Regions from separate parts of the Homo sapiens genome. Here region 2 is linked to region 1. The links are contacts of gene promoters, found by promoter capture Hi-C in blood cells and fetal thymus (Javierre and others, 2016). All regions are on one chromosome and are shown on one strand. The core of a region is centred on a gene start or on the middle of the fragment in contact, and the rest is flanking DNA. Distances in the headings are between cores, read along the strand shown. Region 1 overlaps TRIM4 (tripartite motif containing 4). Region 2 holds the start of ZNF789 (zinc finger protein 789).

The links. Contacts are between HindIII fragments. The CHiCAGO score rates a contact against its expected background, and 5 or more counts as called.
Region 2: the fragment with the promoter of ZNF789 here is called in contact with a fragment that was not itself captured in region 1 in 2 of 17 cell types (erythroblasts and M1 macrophages); the score reaches 8.5 in erythroblasts.

What each region holds. Positions count from the first base shown.
Region 1 is chr7:99,915,475-99,918,174 of GRCh38, reverse strand. All of the region lies in intron 1 of TRIM4 (tripartite motif containing 4), which reads left to right. Among named protein-coding and RNA genes, the nearest start is that of TRIM4, 2.7 kb to the left of the region's middle. The HindIII fragment of the contact is 1,169 bases long and covers 729-1,897 here.
Region 2 is chr7:99,471,483-99,474,286 of GRCh38, reverse strand. ZNF789 (zinc finger protein 789) reads right to left here and starts at 1,397. Exons shown (of 5, transcript NM_213603.3): 1 at 1,231-1,397. RefSeq lists enhancers at 1,108-1,397, 1,688-1,777, 1,998-2,157. The HindIII fragment of the contact is 10,687 bases long and covers 713-2,804 here.

The sequences.
Region 1 (2,700 bases), core at 64-2,563:
TAAATGGATACTGTATTGGACAGTGCCTGTCTGTATCTGTAAATGTCATAGACAGCTGATGATTTGGGAAAAGCCTAGCTTGTAATGATGAGGCTGGGTTTTGTTACTAGCTTCCTTCATCAGTTGGGAAAATCCTGTAACATTTGAATTTGGGGATTATCTGTCCTATCTCATGGGTTAAGAAGCTCCGGTTGAATAAATCACTTTACCTTACTCTGCTTCAGCCATACTGGCTTTCTTGCTTTTGTTTCAAGTCTGTTCTCTTTCTCTACCCACATCTATCCTTTAGATCCTTTTAGCTTTTAGCTTGAAGACCTTCCCTGATCATCCTTTCCAGAGTAGCCCCACCCCCTCCCATTACTGATGGTGTAACTCCAGTGGTCTCCAGCAGAATTGATATGCAGTAAGTACATGAACACATGAATTTATTTATTTATTTTATTATTATTGTTTTTGAGATGGAGTTTCGCTCTTGTTGCCCAGGCTGGAATGCAGTGGTGAGATCTCAACTCACTGCAACCTCCACCTCCCGGGTTCAAGTGATTCTCCTGCCTCAGCTTACCGAGTAGCTGGGATTACAGGCACCTGCCAGCATGCCCAGCTAATTTTGTATTTTTAGTGAAGACAGGGTTTCACTATGTTGGTCAGGCTGGTCTCGAACTCCTGACCTCAGGTGATCCACCCACCTTGGCCTCCCAAAGTGCTGGGATTACAGGCGTGAGCAAGCTTTCCTGGCCAAACACATGAATTTAATGACACAGTGAAAATGTTTGGAAACTGTAAAATACTGTACAGTTGTACCAGCTGACTATGAACAGGAAACAGACACAAAGCTGGACTAGAAAGTGTATGTTCATTCCTTCACTCAGTAACGTTTATTGATGCTTACTATTTGCCAAACATTGTTTTAGAATCTGGACATAAGTGGATGAGAAAGACATGGGCTTTGTCTTGTAAGGAACTTAAGCGTGTACAACATTAATTTCAGTGTGTGTGAGAGTAGCTGAAGTATTTACCAAGTGTACAGAAGGTCTGAGGTCGGAGTGATCACTGAGGAGTGAGGAAAGGCTCCGTTGAGGAGTTAAATGTGTTAGCTCTTCAAGGGTGAGTAGAGGTAGGAAAGAAGGTATTTCAGGCCAAAGGAACAGCATATTCCAAATGTGGTGGAGTGGGATAGCATGTGGTGTGTGAGAGGACTGGAGGTTGCTCAGTACTTCTGGAGCATGGAGCATGGGAAGGAGGATGGTGGGCCATGAGCTTGAAGAAAAAGGCAGGGCCTTATCATGAAGGATCTTGTTTGCCATAGTAAAAAGATTGAACTTTCTCTTTCAGGCAGTGGGGAGTTATAAAAGGGTTTTAAGGCAGGGAATGATATGATCGTTTTTTTTGTTTTAGACAGGTAACTTTGACATCCACGTGGATGAATGGAAGAGAAGACTAATTAGGCTGCTCTTGTACCATTTTAAGCAGGAGGTAATAAAGACCTGAATTAGTTCAGGGCAGGGATGATGGAGAGGGAGGGATGGAGTGATAATGAGCTGGAGTTGAATGACTTGGTGATCAATTAGACTTGGTGGGTGAGAGAGAGAGGAGTCTTGGATGGTAGTTCAGATTTCTGCTTCAGATGGCAGGTAGATGACTGTCAGGTTAACTGAGGTAAGGTACACAGGAGGAAGCGTAGTCTTAGGACAGAAGATCCCATGCTTGTGGAATGTACTGAGTGTGAAGTAATTGTGACAGGAAGTCCAAGGAAGAGGGACAGGAGGTGGGGTGCCTTGGAGGCTAGAGATAATATTTTAGAATCCTCAGCCTGTTCTTGAAGTCATGGAAGAAGTAAGAAGATGAGATTCTCCTAGGAGGACCACATAGAGAGTAAAAAAAGGCACAAAGAGAAGCTTGGGAAACACCAATGGTTGGTAGCCAGCAAAAGACATGGAGAGGACCCATCAGATAAATGGAAGGGAAAATACACTTGTGGGTGGGGGCCGAGGGAAATATAAGTGGATGGGTATGAAAGGGGAACATAGCCCTTAAATCTTCCATCTTCAGCAGTAATAGCTATCAGTTGTTCATTACTTCTTACGTACCACCCACAGTTCTAAGCATTTTTCATACTGTAATTCTTTAATCTTCATAGACATCCTATTAGGTGGATTCTGTTATTCCCTTTTTGAAGATGAGGCAACTGTGCCACAGAGATGTGAGGTTACATGCCCCCGAGGTCACAGAACTAGGAAGTGGCTATGCTTGAACTGAGGTCTTCTAACCCCTAATCCTTTACACTTTTCACTCTGCCACAACTAATCTGAGAAGACTTCTTAGAAGAGGTGGGATTTCAGGATTAAACACAATGGCCCAACAGGACAGGAGTGGATGGGTAAGGGTTACACTGGGATGGGCTGAATGTCACAAGGTTGACTTCGTAGGTGTTCAGGAGCCAGGTCACTGGGCGGAATTCCCTGATATCCGCCCATCTCTCCATCCTCCTCTGCTTAGTCACTGCCCTATTCAACCACCTTTCATTCCATCCCCACCCCAAGTTAGTTAGAAAAACATAAACTGCCCCTGGGTGAAGCTGCTTTATTTCCAAGCATCCCATTCTCAGCATATACTCAGATGGATGGACTGTGTTTTAAAAGTTGGATAGCTGGAAGTTCCCTAAATCCATGGAAAATATCCCCATCCTATACCCGTTATGGT
Region 2 (2,804 bases), core at 148-2,647, 440 kb after region 1:
ATTGTTTTGCGATTTTTTTTTAGCTCATGAGCTATTTTTAGTGTTTGTGTATTTTATGTGTAGTCCAAGACAATTCTTCTTCCAATGTGGCCCAGGGAAGCCAAGAGATTGGACACCCCTGCACTATATTTACTGAATGTGTTTGTGAAGGCTGTGCATCTGAATGTCAGACTTGCTAATGAAAAATTAAATGGAGTCCATGTTTTGGGTACGGCCCTAGGCCAACCACCCACAGCCATGTAAGGCATTTAAAATACATTGATTTCTCCCTTGAGTTCAGGAGTTGGAGACTGCAATGAGCTATGATGGCACCACTACACTCCACCCTGGGTGACAGAGCAAGACCCTGTCTCTCTTAAAAACAACAGGCCGGGCGTGGTGGCTCACACCTGTAAATCCCAGCACTTTGGGAGGCCGAGGCGGGCGGATCATGAGGTCAGGAGTTCAAGACCAGCCTGGCCAACATAGTGAAACCCAGTCTCCACTAAAAATACAAAAATTAGCCGGGCATGGTGGCGCGTGCCTGTAGTCCCCGCTACTCGAGAGGCTGAGGCAGGAGAATCGCTTGAACCCGGGAGTTGGAGGTTGCAGTGAGTCGAGATTGGCCCATTGTACTCCAAACTGGGCAACAGAGTAACACTTCGTCTCAAACACAACAGCAACAACAATTCCTTATTTCCCTGAAAAGTGTGCGCTGACCAGGAAAGAAGCTTTTTTCTCGTCCGCATGATAAACTGAACCAATCAGCTACAGATGCGAGGCTGATCCAGCTCGACTTACCCTAGAAGGAATGCAAGTTGATAATGGCCAATTACAATCAAGATCACTGCACTTCCTCATTTAGCTTTCCAAGCTGCCATTGGAACAATTTGCCAGCTGTTCCTCTGCATGCACAATAAACTCTTAAAACTTTAACTGGAGGGGACTGTTAACTTTTGACAAAATCCAAAATGCCGCTTCACAATCACGTGAACACCTTCCACTAACAACCACGGCTCATCTCCCACTCTAACAAAACCAAGTCCAGGCGTTCACCATCCATTCATTCTTCGGACTTTGCTCCTCTCGCTGCCGAAGACTTGACACCGCCAAAAATACTCAAAAGCTGGTGCCACAGGCCCCGAGAGCCGCCGCACAAACCCGGAGCGTCCCCTGCGAGCCGGGGGTGTGCGCAGTGGCCTACCCCCCGCACCCACGCCCCCCACAACACTCGTTTCCTTCTCCCCAAACCTGCTGACGGCTCCGAATCTCCGCCAAGCCGCCTCCACCAGGGGCTGGGCTCTCCTCTCGGGGTTCCCGGGCCTGACCCGAGGTCTGTCTGGTCCGCGCCCCTCGGCGAATCACCCCTTACCGGAGGAACAGACACAACCACTCTGGCAGCCTCAGAGCCTCTCGCTGGCTCCACCTGCGCGCGCCGAGCGAAGCGTCCCAGCCAGCGGCCCCTCTAGGACCGCGGAGGCTTCACGACTCTCTTGTCAGACAAAGAGAGTGGCGCCCGCGCGAGTGGGCCCGAACCAATCAACGGCCGCCCTCCCCGCCCAGGCCAATCAACGGCCGGAGACAGCACCGAGAGAGTCACGTGATGGACAGGGCCCCGCCCCTCCTGTTTAATCGTAACATAATTTAGAATTATTCTATGATTCAAGAGCGACACAATTCGTTTCTTTGGCTGTGTGTTTGTGGAGGGGAGTAAGGTTATCAGATAAAAGAAGAAAAATGGGCCAGGCGCGGTGGCTTACGCCTGTAATCCCAGCACTTTGGGAGGCAGAGGCCGGCGGATCAGGTCAAGAGATTTAGATCATCCTGGCCAACATGGTGAAACCCCTTCTCTACTAAAAATACAAAAAAATTGCCGGGCGCGGTGGCTCACGCCTGTAATCCCAGCACTCTGGGAGGCCGAGGCGGGTGGATCACCTGAGGTCGGGAGTTCGATACCAGCCTGACCAACAATGGAGAAACCCGTCTCTACTAAAAATACAAATAAAATTAGCCGGGCATGGTGGTGCCTGCCTGTAACCCCGGCTACTCGGGAGGCTGAGGCAGGAGAAGCGCTTGAACCCGGGAGGCGGAGGTTGCGGTGAGCCGAGATTGCGCCACCGCACTCCAGCCTGGGTGACAGAGCGAGACTCCGTCTCAAAAAAAAAAAAAAAAAAAAAAAAATTAGCTGGGCATGGTGGCGGCGTGCCTGTAGTGCCAGCTACTCGGGAGGCTGAGGCAGGAGAATCACTTGAACTCGGGAGGCGGAGCTTGCAGTGAGCCGAGATCCCACCACTGCACTCCAGACTGGCGACAGAGCGAGACTCTGTCTCAAAAAAAAAAAAAAGAATATTAGATCTTAATTAAAAGGATAATTGTGTGGCTTATGTAAATTACCCCCAAAATACAGTTTTAATGTGAGTAAGGGGTTAATTTTTTTTCTTTTTTTTTTGAGACAGTCTCGCTCTCGCCCAGGCTGGAGTGCAGTGGCGCGATCTCGGCTCACTGCAAGCTCCGCCTCCCGGGTTCACGCCATTCTCCTGCGTCAGCCTCCTGAGTAGCTGGGACTACAGGCGCCCGCTACCACTCCCGGCTAATTTTTTTTGTGTGTGTGTTTTTAGTAGAGACGGGGTTTCACCATTTTGGCCAGGCTGGTCTCGAACTCCTGACCTCAAGTGATCCGCCTGCCTTGGCCTCCCAAGTTTTGTTTGTTTTTTATTTCTTCTAAACAAAACAAAACAAACAGGATACACGTGCAGAACGTGCAGGTTTGTTACATGTGCCATGGTGGTTTGCTGCACCTATTGACCCATCCTCTAAGTTCCCTC